Linked DNA regions of Homo sapiens: region 2 is linked to region 1. The links are contacts of gene promoters, found by promoter capture Hi-C in blood cells and fetal thymus (Javierre and others, 2016). All regions are on one chromosome and are shown on one strand. The core of a region is centred on a gene start or on the middle of the fragment in contact, and the rest is flanking DNA. Distances in the headings are between cores, read along the strand shown. Region 1 holds the start of ITGB8 (integrin subunit beta 8). Region 2 has its middle 23 kb from the start of ABCB5.

Evidence for each region. The method cuts DNA at HindIII sites, captures the fragments that hold promoters and counts their contacts. A CHiCAGO score of 5 or more calls a contact.
Region 2: a contact is called between a fragment that was not itself captured here and the fragment with the promoter of ITGB8 in region 1, in 4 of 17 cell types (monocytes, M0 macrophages, M1 macrophages and 1 more). The highest score is 9.9, in monocytes.

The regions. Positions count from the first base shown.
Region 1 is chr7:20,326,358-20,332,149 of GRCh38, reverse strand. It overlaps ITGB8 (integrin subunit beta 8), which reads right to left and starts at 1,250. Exons shown (of 14, transcript NM_002214.3): 1 at 217-1,250. The coding sequence starts at 343. It overlaps ITGB8-AS1 (ITGB8 antisense RNA 1), which reads left to right and starts at 388. Exons shown (of 3, transcript NR_110120.1): 1 at 388-500; 2 at 2,637-2,783; 3 at 3,294-3,849. RefSeq lists silencers at 290-529, 1,000-1,389 and enhancers at 1,470-1,759, 1,860-1,929, 2,017-2,629. The HindIII fragment of the contact is 8,395 bases long and covers 1-4,459 here.
Region 2 is chr7:20,589,921-20,595,712 of GRCh38, reverse strand. It overlaps the pseudogene LOC402641. Among named protein-coding and RNA genes, the nearest start is that of ABCB5, 23 kb to the left of the region's middle. The HindIII fragment of the contact is 5,077 bases long and covers 193-5,269 here.

The DNA of each region.
Region 1 (5,792 bases), core at 1-2,500:
TCTGATAATTAGTCCTTGCTGTCGCTCCAGGGCAGAAATGCTTGACACCTGGCCTCTAGGCCATCTGTGCTGGAGGACGCTGCCCCGCACCCGCCCCCTTGAAGTTCTCTGATGACCGCAACTTACCTGGCCGGGATGCTCTGGCCGGGCAGCTCTTCGTGCCAGCCCAAGACCTTTGGGGAAGAGAAGAAAACAAAACAAAACAAAACAACTTACCACCTTGGCCCAGTCCAAGAACAAGTGAAAACACCCAGGCTGCCCAGAGGAACGAGGCGGGACCTCGCCGGTCGTTTTGCAGGCAGACAAATGCAGCGGTAAAAAAAGCCAGGGCCGAGCCGCACATAATGCAAAACAGCCCGCCCCGCGCCCGCCGCCTGACTGCCTTCCGGACGCGGGCTCGCGCCTCCCGGGCGCACCTCGGGGCCCGCGGGCCGAGTGTCGCTAGGACGTTTTCCGCAGGCCTAGCAGGCGGACCCCGCGGCTCGGAGCAAGCGGTGCAGGTAAGCGGGCCCGGGCACCGCTCGGCATCTCAGGGCCCCTGCGGCCCTCCCGGCTCGGCACGGCGGGTCCCGCGGTCTCCGCGAGAAGCACCTCCTTCGACGGCCAAGGGCCCCGGCGGCGACTGGAGAGAGGGCTCTGCAAGGGCTCCGCAGCCTGCTCCGGGACAAAGAAAAGAGCTTTTGTTTCTCTCCAGCCGGTGGGGCTTCTGCTGCATAAATCAGCTTAGCGAAGAGCCAAACACAATCAAACCCAAACAAAGCCCGAAGCTGGGGGGGAAACCACCCTAATGTACATTCACTGGGTGATGCTGGATCTGTGGGAGGGGACGCCGGCGAGGTCGAGGGGAAAAAAGTCTGTGGCGCATCAATCAGCGCAGTTGCTTCCACAGGTGGGCAGGGAGGCCAACACCATTAGTTGCAGCTTTGCAGCCCCGTCTGCGGAGCAGCGGGCAAAGACAAGTCGGCAGCGTCCTGGCTGGCAAGGGAGGAAGCTCGGGATGCCAGCAACAGGGGGAGGCGGCTCTGGGAGCGCCCTAGAAGCACCCGCCGACACCCGCAGGCACAGAGCGAGGCATCGCCGCTCCCTCCCTGGCGGGGAGTGGGGCCTGCGGCTGCGAGCGCAGGAGGGGAGGTTCCGCGAGGTGCCGGAGCCCGGCTTCGCGGGGCGGGGGCTGCGTGCCCTTGTCCTTTTCGCCTCAGTGCGCGGCTCAGGCGTCCCGCAGTCCAGAGCCCGAGTTGCTGGCGCGCTCTGGGGTGCACACGGCTAGGATGCGAGAGAGGCGAGGCCGGCGATGGGCGGGAGAGGGGTGGTCCTGCTCTGGCCCCCCGGGGGGCTCCAGACCTGCGGGTAGCCGGGTGCACTCAGGGCAGAGAGTTGCTAGGAAACCTCCCCACGCTACCGGAGCGCCTCGCCTCGGCTGCCCGCAGGCGCGGCTGCAGCCCGGGCAGGAGCAGCAGTAACAGCTCGGAGCAGCGTGGGCGGGACATTGGTGAGGCATGAAGTCACCGCGGCCCACACTCGCTCTTTGTTTTGCTCACTCCAGCTCTTTCTTTTCCCCCTTGGCTCTGATAGTTGCCATTCCCATCGTTCACAAGAACTCCTGAAGCGTAGCCGCGCAACAGGAATGGCACGCCTCGTTCCCTTCTCCCTCCTCCCCCGAATCCTTGCACCCCAACGCTCGCGGGGGTGGTGGGAGACTCGCTCAGCGCCAGCGGCAGCTGCGAGCAAACCCCAATCTCTCACCCCCGCGCTGCTCGCCGCTTTGTTCGGAGATACTCACTGCCCCGCAGCTGCTGCATACAAAGTGGAGTCAAGGGACCTCCCCTGCCCCCAACGCCCTCTACTCAGCACTTTGCTTGCAGTTAGGAGCTCGTCCTCTACCCCACCACAAGGCTGCCCCGGTGTCCCTAGCCTTTGGAGAGTTGGACCAGTCTGCAGGGGCTGTTCCCGGAGCGACTGGCCGAGATTTCTCGCTGCTCCTTCTCTGCTCAAAACCTTAACCCTGGACTGGACAGCCCTGTTTTTCCCCAGCGTCTGGTGGTGGCTCTGGGCTTTTGCAAGTTACAGTGGGTCTTTTGATCTTAAGCGTCACCTTCCCAGTAAACGGAACAAAAAGTTACAGACAGCAGCAAAGCGGGGAGAGGGGAGCTAAGGAGAGAAAGTGGAAGGCACTTCTGCCTGCTTGCAGCTCAGAAATTTAGGTGCAAGTAGGGTGCGGGTGTTATGCTGGGCAACTGCCCGGAAGCAGCGCGCCTCCTCGGGTCCTGTCATTACCACGCTAAGTCGAGGGAGGGAACTCAGTCCCCCGCATTGGAAACAAGGCAGTGTTTCCAGTTTAACACGGTGATGGTTCTCTTTTCCCTCTAGGGGCAGGAGCGATTCCCATTCGAGGAGTTTGACCTCTCATTTTAATACAACACCCGCCTCTTAGAGGCAGCAGACCAGTCCAGCCAGGTCAAGGTGAAATATGCGGGAGTTTCCCCCCTTCTTATTTAATAGTTTCCGTCTCCTTATTTGTAGTTAAAAAAAAAAAAAAAAAAAAAGTAGGAGGCGCGGTCTCTCTCTTTCTTTCTGTTGACTGAGTGAATGGAAAGTACCTGGTTAATAAACCACAACATCGAAACTCCCCCTTTCAGGTGTGGACCGCACAACGGGGTGCACAGGATTAGTTAAGCAAAGCAGGAACCCAGCTGGAAAATTAAACGAGCCCTGGATCTGCAAAGCAGGTCCCTTCGCGAGACCAAAGCCGTGATCCCAACCTTAGCAACATAATTCTACTGGAGGTGATGTACTCTAAATAAATAGAAATAAATCCAGCTCCGCTTTAATATTTATTTCCTTTCCTTAGTTCCAAGTTTGAACAGTTATAGTTTTGTTTTTTGGTTGTCTTAAAGGAAAGGCCTAAAAATTAGTTAGGATGGGTGTGAGGACTTGAAAATTTGAACACAAAAATATCATATTCAATATCTGATTAGTGACTCTTCCATTGGGCAGCCTGGGTATTTTCCAGGGGTTATGTCACAGACCTACTGAATGCAGCCACCCTTGAGACATGCAGTGCTTCAATCAAAAAAAAAAAAAATTAAATCCCTAATTCCCATAAGGACATGTCAATACACTTTAAAGTGTCTATCATATCACCATTCCATAATATTCTAAAATACAACTCTTTGTTGCTGGGTTGTAAGTGGCAGTTACAGTAATAAATAAAATATAAATGTATGCAAACAAGAAAGGATGTAACTTTATGAAATTGATGAGGTATGCACTAATTTTTGTAACTCTGTTTTTAGGTGTTGATATATATACTAATCCAGAACAACCATGTAGCAAGAGGAATAAAATGAAGTTCAGAAGTCTGTTTCGGGAAATTTTGAAGCCCTTTAGAAAGAAAGATTTCTACATTTTGTTACATGAAATTCATGCAAATATATGTCAGGTGCCAGTGCTATGGAGTTGTTGAAGAATAAGCACAATACCATTTATTACCACTTCTCAGTTGTAAAGAGGCTGTAACTCTGGTTGTCGAAATAAAATAAAATGAAATCTCCTAGATGTGACACTGTGACCCCTGCCAGTTATTTACAAACAAGTTATCTGCACATTTTGGGCTGTAAACATAAAAGTAAACTCTCTGAAAGACTGCAAATCATCTTTAGGGTTTTCTTAAAGTAAATACAACTAGTGGCCCAGGAACCAAAAGTTTGCTTGTTTCCAGTTAATGTCACTGGTCACCATAACTCACCCTTTTTCCTATGAGGAAATGTACAGCATATTTTAAAGAAATGCAGTATTGTTATCTTCGTCATATTACCTGAAGAATTCTAATAAAGGAAAAATGTTTCGGAAGATGGTGACTTGATTAATTTGTTTTTCCATCATGTTCTGCTATATTGCTTTGAAATTTCTGACAGCTAATTTTTCATCATTTGTGGTAATGAGAGGAAATGAAATTCACAGATAGTCTAAAAATAACATTTTAGTTATTCATTCCAGGCTTCCTATCATTAGAGTCTTTGAGCTGAGTTACTAAAAAGTCATAAAATTAAATTACTTAAATTTCTTCCCTACTCCTTTAACCTTGATTTCTCACTAAGTGAGTTTATGGTGAGAATGAATAAGCTATAGATAGGTAGCAGGAGTGAGGGAGACACTCAGACTGTTTTTTAAGAAATGGAATCTTGCTATCTCACTATGTTGCCCAAACTGGCCTTGAACTCCTGGTTCAAGTTTGAACTCAAGCTATCCTCCCACCTCAGCCTTCTGTGTAGCTGGGATTATAGGTGTAAGACACCACATACAGCTGTGGCTATTCACACTTTAACTAGATGTGCCCAAATTATTGATCTCATAGTGGCACCTACAGACACATTTGAATTTTAATGTTACATCTTTTTGAAGTTGGGATCAGAGCCATTCAGTACGTTTTGGGTGGGTATTCACAAGTTATCTATAAGCTTGCCTGAGACATCTCAGAAGATGATTAATGGTCAGACCAGTGAGATATATTATTGTGACTATGACCTCTAGCTTCTTCTAATGATAAAGTACATAAATTGCTTGAAGGTATTTTTCACTGAATTGTTACATAAGACAGTGTTTCTCATACTGTAGACTGAAGACTGCATACAACACAATCCCCCATAGAGTAATTCTGAGTTCTAATTCCTTGTCTCTATTCCAGGAGATTCTGAATTAGTAGATCTTGTATGGTGCTCAGCAATCTGCATTATACCAAGGTCCTCAAATGGTTTTTATATGCTCTGAAGTTTAAGAACTTCCTACTTTAATGGGTTAATACAGAGACTCCTTAAAGGCCTCATGAGTGTTTAATAACAGAGATCAGTGTCAGGTGCAAATTCAAAGAAAAATGAACTGCTGGAGCCAGTGTCTCTTGCCAAGATAGTTTATGGATGACTCAATCTGTGAGATATTAATGTTTTCTGAAACAAGACTTCCATGATTAAGCTTGGGAAATGCTGAATTAAAGTCAAATTAAATCCCTTACTAGAGGAATTTCCGGAAACTCAATAGAGCAGCATGCCATTAGATTCTCCAAAGGAAGAAACCTGTATGAGAGAACATCTCACAGATTAATTTTCCTCGAAGCATGCTACAGAGCTAGCCCCATTTTACAAATGTGGAAACTGAGACAAAGACTGGCAAAGAAACCAACCTCACTTTTTCAAGGGAATTCATGAGCAGGCAGAAATCAGAGCTCTGATTCTCCTCAATTATCTCATATTGTGATGACTTCTAGTTTCAAGTAAAGAGTCAGATTATGGCTGTTCTAAGTAAAAAAGGAAACTATTGGCTGGGTGTGGTGGCTCACACCTGTAATCCCAGCACTTTGGGAGGCCAAGGCAGGAGAATCACCTGAGGTCAGGAGTTCGAGACCAGCCTGGCCAACATGGCAAAACCCGTCTCTACTAAAAATGTAAAATTAGCCTGGCATGGTGGCACACACATGTAGCCCCAGCTATGTGAGAGGCTGAGGCATGAGAATTGCTTAAACCCTGGAGGTGGAGGTTGCGATGAGCTGAAATTACATCACTGTACTCCAGCCTGGGTAACAGAATGACACACAGTCTCAAAAAAAAAAAAAAAAAGGAAATTCTTGAAAGAAAATTGGGAGCCCACAGAATCACAGAATCAGCAGGAAGCTGGGAGACTACGACTAACCAAGGCCAGAAAACACGGAGGCATAAGCAGTAGCAGGAAGTGTCTAACTCTTAAGAACAACTTTGAATCCTCCCTTTGCTTTGGATCACTTGCTCAAGATTCAAAATCCT
Region 2 (5,792 bases), core at 1,482-3,981, 260 kb before region 1:
CGTGCTACCAAGATTCATTTACATGTTTGATGCCTACACCAGTTGATGCAGTCATCTTTGTATCGTTAATCTACGTACATTCACGGACTAACACAGTGCCTGGTTCCACCACCTACTACCTTCGTGAACTTCGTCAAGTTAATGAATGTCTCTAGGACTCCCTTTTCTTATCAGTGAAAGAAGATAAAAGCTTCAACTCATAATGTTTCTGTGAGGACTGAAGGTTAAAGTCATGGAAGTTGCTGGCATATACTAAATGCAACATAAATTAGCATAATCTCAAAATAGGAGGAAACAGCATTCCAGAAAGTAGATCTAAGAAAAAATATGTTGAGAACCATTATTCAGAGTTCTCAACACCTCCTTCCTGCTCCTCCACTGGGCAGCTTTGAACCCATTACATTTCTCCCATTGTATAATTTTCTTTGTACATTGCTCTCAAGGGGAGAGCAGGTACTGCTTAGAAAGGGGACGTTAGTTGGATTGATGAATGGGTTTTAAAACTTGTAGCAAAGGCAGAAGTCTTAAAAGCCAAGTGCTTAAGACAGATAACGTGTTTTAAAGTTCAAATGCTTGGCTTTGAATATCAGAATACAAAATCTTGAAGGTAGCACGGCGTGGAGATTATGCCCAAATCAACACAACATATGATGATGTAAGAGTTAGTGGGAGAAACCCAAATCCTGCCCAGTCCTCTCTGTCCTCCCCACTTGCCAAACAGAAAGGAATGGATGTGTTGTATCCTAGAGTATCCTACCTGTTGCATAGCCAGGGGAGACTAGAAGCCTGTTAGAATCCCTTGGTTATCATGGGGTTGGAATAGCAGACCAGCCACGGAATGATGAAGAGCCTGGACTAAAAGCCCCAAGGGCCTCCTCACAGAGCCCTTGTGTACCCCAAGGATGAAAAAAAGCATCCAAGGGGGGTGTAGAGTGTTGAAAGAGATCCAATTGATTTGAAAAAAACCTAGGGCAAGATAAGGAAGACGGTGTGTGTGTGTGTGTGTGTGTGTGTGTGTGTGTGTGTATGTTGGAGGGGGTTGATGGTTCAAGGGCATTATCATCAGTGTCTCCCAGCCCATAACAACAAGCACCTGTTGAAGAGATTTACAGCTCAGCAGACACCAGACGTTGTACTAGCTATATTTTATTTTGGTATGATTGGCGTAAATTCCCAGGTATAGATGAATAATTTGAATACAACTTATTTAGGTAGAGATTCCCTTTTTCTTCAATTACTCCTGCCTTAGAATGGAAGGGGTCTTATAGTCTTCAAGTGAGTAGACAGCATGGCTATGTGCAGACAGAATGGCAGCAATGCCCCTCTGCAAGCTCCACGGGTTTAGGGCAATTTGTTGACCATTTCCTGTTGACAGCCTTTCCAACAGCATGAATCCCATGGATGTGGTTTTCCAGCAGTTTCAGCCAGTTCCTCCCTAAGAAGCCAATGCACAGGATTCAGCGGAGGCCAGCGGAAACGTCCCTCTCCTAGAGAAGTGCTGCTTCATCAGGACTTGCGGCTCTCAGCAACATCAACCTTCTTATCACTGTAATCTGGAAGAGCACATGCTGTTCTCGATGATGTTGGCAACGGGCTTTACGAGAAAATGTCATGGAAGTTGTCCTTTCCAGTTATAGCTAAACCACCAGGGTCAAATTTTATTTTGCACTCAAGATCCACAGATGAATACTCTTGCAAAGCCTGCAATATCCAGAGATAAAGTGCTTTATGCTCTGAATCGTGCAATTCAGAAGGGAAGCACAATGAGGGAGTAGTTCTAAGAGGGGTATTAATCGGACTGCTTAGGTTCTTGTCTTAGCTTCAACATTTACCAGATCTGCAAAAGTATTTTAATCTTCGTTCTTCAGTTTTCCTTTCTGTAACATAGGCAATAATGTGCTTCCCTTGTAGGACTTGGGAATTAAATAAGAAAACATATAAGAAGCACAGTGCCTGGCATTTTCTGAGCTCTTAATGAATGCTGGCTTTGTCATGAAGTTTATTATTGCCAACATTTATGGTGGCAGAAAATGTTGGTTGGCTGCCCTACAGACGTTTCCTGCTGCTCTGTCTTCCTTGTAATCAAAGCGCTAATTTTGTATATTTATCTGGGAACCACATGCTGATGAATTTTGATTGAACTAACTGCTTGCTAATAAGTGGCTCTCCTATTTCTGAGTATTCAGGGCATGGCACAACTTACCTAAAGGGAGACCTGGTCATGTGACTTGCTGTGGCCAGTGAAATATGAGATGCTTGACACCACAAACAATGACATTCATGCTACATGTCTGTAGCATTGCCTTCTGTTGAGACTTTCAATAAAAATCAATGAGCTTTTCACTTCAAATCACAGAAAGACTAAAGTGTGGTTGCTATCTGTTACCATACCATTACTGAGTCCATCTTGGCTGGTATCTAAAAGCAAACTCCATGAAACCTGTTTCACTCTTTAATAACTATTTTGCATGGCATCTTTTTGTCCCTTAATTTTTAAAAATTTTTAATTTTAGTTTTCAGAAGTTGTTTTCACTGCCATCAACTTTTTTGGTGGAAATTACTGGAAATTCTGGCAATTATTAAATCATAGTTCATATCAAACTGTGCTGATTGAGCTTTTGCCATTGTGAGTTTTCTTTTGTGGCTATTATTTCTCTTTTTTAAACTTTTGAGTTCAGGGGTACAAGTGCAGGTTTGTTACATAGGTAAACTGTGTCATGGGGGTTTGTTGTATGGATTATTTCATCACCCAGGTACTAAGCCTAGCACCCAATAGTTATTTTTCCTGATTCTCGCTCTCCTTCCACCCTCTATCCTCCCATAGGCCCCAGTGTGTGTTGTTCCCCTCCCTGTGTCCATGTGTTCTCATCATTCAGCTCCCACCTAAAAGTGAGAACCTGTGGTGTTTGGTTTTCTGCTCCTGTGTTAGTTTGCTAAGATATTGGCCTCCAGCTCCACCCACATCCCTGCAGAAAACATGATCTCATTCTAACACATTTAACTTGATTGTGCTAAACTCTGCAGATCTAAATTCTGATAAGAAGATGTAAATTTGTAATTTTCTAATCAATAATAAAGGATTATTAGAAAGAAGGCAGAGCATCAAACAGACTCTAGAATGAGATTGATAAGTTCTAACTCTGGCTTTGTCACTGCTTACCGTGTCACTTGGGGCAAGTTACTTAACTTCTCTGTTTCCTTTTCATCTGTGAAAAAGGATCATATTAGCGTTAGCATCTAACTCACAAAATATTTTATGAGAGTAATCAGTTACTTTTTTATAAAAGCTCTTAAAACAGTGCCTGGAACAATAAAAGCTATGTAATCTATGTATGTATGTATGTATGTATGTATGTATCTATCTATCTAGATACACACATACATATCTATATCTATATCTATCTCTATATATGTATATACATATTTTTTTGAGATGGAGTTTCACTCTTTGTTGTGCAGACTGGAGTGCAATGGCTCAATCTCAGCTCACTGCAGCCTCTGCCTCCCTGGTTCAAGCAATTCTCCTGCCTCAGCCTCCTGAGTAGCTGGGATTACAGGCACGCGCCACCACGCCCGGCTAATTTTGTGTTTTTAGTAGAGGTGGGGTTTTGCCATGTTGGTCAGGCTGGTCTTGAACTCCCGACCTCAGGTGATCCACCCGCCCTTGGTCTCCCAAAGTGCTGGGATTACAGGCATGAGTCACTGTGCCTGGCCCGTAAATATTTTGAAGTGACTAAAATGTACGGTTTTAACTATTATTTTTTTTGGCTGTTTGTATAAAGTATACTTATTACTTGCTCTACTCTTGTGGGTGTAAATCACATATATATTATTTAATTTAAATATATATATATTTTAAAGAGAAGTTTATTGGTCTTTAAATGGCTCAAATTGCAACTAAACAAATCGGGTAGTGGCATCAGCCTAAGACACATGATGCATCTTTGTCATTTGGCTTCATAGCACCTCAGTACCCAGGAAAGGAGAGGTCTCAAAGCAAAGTCACAATGTTAGTGGTTAGGACCTCTGGTTAAACAAGACTGTAATGAGTACACGTGGAGATTGCTGGGCCCGCTGGCCAGTGTTACACTGGTAACTTGAATTCTGCACATGACATAGCCTATGAGAAATACAAAATGAAAGATGTACCTCTCAAACCCTTTAATGACAAATATTTAACAGAGAAACTGGATGTAATATCTAATGAGTGAGTTCCTAGAAAGTCTATTTTTAACTTTACACACACACCTGTTTCCTGGAATGCCTGAACACATCTTTGACCTGTTTAAATCAGGACTGAGCAAAAGGAAAAAAAATACTCCGTTGAATCAACTGTCCTAGTTCCACTGCAAAGAGGAAAAAAAAATCGGACAGTGGCATATTTCCCACTGAAATTATGTCCCCAAATAGCGTGCTAGAATTCTTCCGGCAGGAACACCACACAACGGTGACACAGCCTGATGTTTGGTCAGTGTGTGCCAAACATGTTTTCTGCACAGTACCCAGGTCTGACTGCTTGATGTTAACTCCTGAAAGTGAAGCTACAGTGTTCTTCATTCAACAGTGCAAAATGCATTAGCATTATTGACATTTTCTTCCTGTGCCCTACTCCCAGGAGATCAAAAACTTAACACTTACATGCTCACCACTGGCAGAAAGTGATTTCCAGGGACCAGCATCTTAAAGAAAAAGAGGGTTCATTCAAACATAACTGGTGCTGAATCCTTGCAGCTGAAAATTATCTTACAAGTATATGCTGGCCCTTCATTTTAAATGAACTTGAAGTTTATTAAAAGTGATCAAAGAGCTCTGGAATCTTATTTTCAAGAACCAGAGTGTGGCACACATTTTAAATTTGGACAGGCTCCTAGCAGGCAGTTACTTCTCAAGAATCTTCTATACCAAAGCTGTACTCCATGCTGGGCATATATTTTCTCACCAGGACACATGAGGCAGTGGACCCCTGGTGTCAGTAAGAACATACCCAGAATGATATAACCGGGTATTTTTCTGTTTCTAAATTAAGGCATATTCAAAAATTTCCATGTACAAGTTTACACTACTTTAATCACCGGGTAATTAAAGCAGATTCACAGATGAATTACTCTCAGTTTAACTATATACAACAACCATGCCAATAACTTTTTCTTCTAAATTTTGCATAACAATGGTTTTAAAAAGTGGTACAGTTTAACTATCATGTTCACAATTGTCATTTTTCAAGACAGTAGAAGACCAAGATATTTTAATATGATATAAAATGTAAGCTTTATAATAAAACACCAGAGGAAGTCCTCTTTCCTCCCTCTCCTCACCCCCATCTCGCTTCTTTAATATTTCAAGAAAGACTGCCTCAGAAACACAAGCTCCCATGCTACATTCAGGACCATGATAATTGTTGGCAATTACTAAATAAGTTGAACTTTGCTCCTTGGTGAAGCCATATTAATTTCTTTTTTAAGTAAATTTGAATTTCATTGCAGTTGCAATTCATGCTTTCAGTGATATACAACAATTTCCAAAATGTTAAAGTAATTTCAGTCAATTGAGCCTTCAGTGGCAATGCTTATAAATTATATTTATTAGTATAGTCGAGATAAGAAAGGAGTTTGGGATTTGATTGTAAAATGCAGCATCTTTCTCTGATTGTCTTGGCTAAACTTTTCCTCTTCTTTTTCCACTCTTTGTCACCTTCCATCTTTCTCACTCGAATTTCTCTCATTAAGTCAAAAAATACCTTGTGAACATTAGCTCATGTTTTAGGAGATGTTTCCACATAGATAACATTCCAC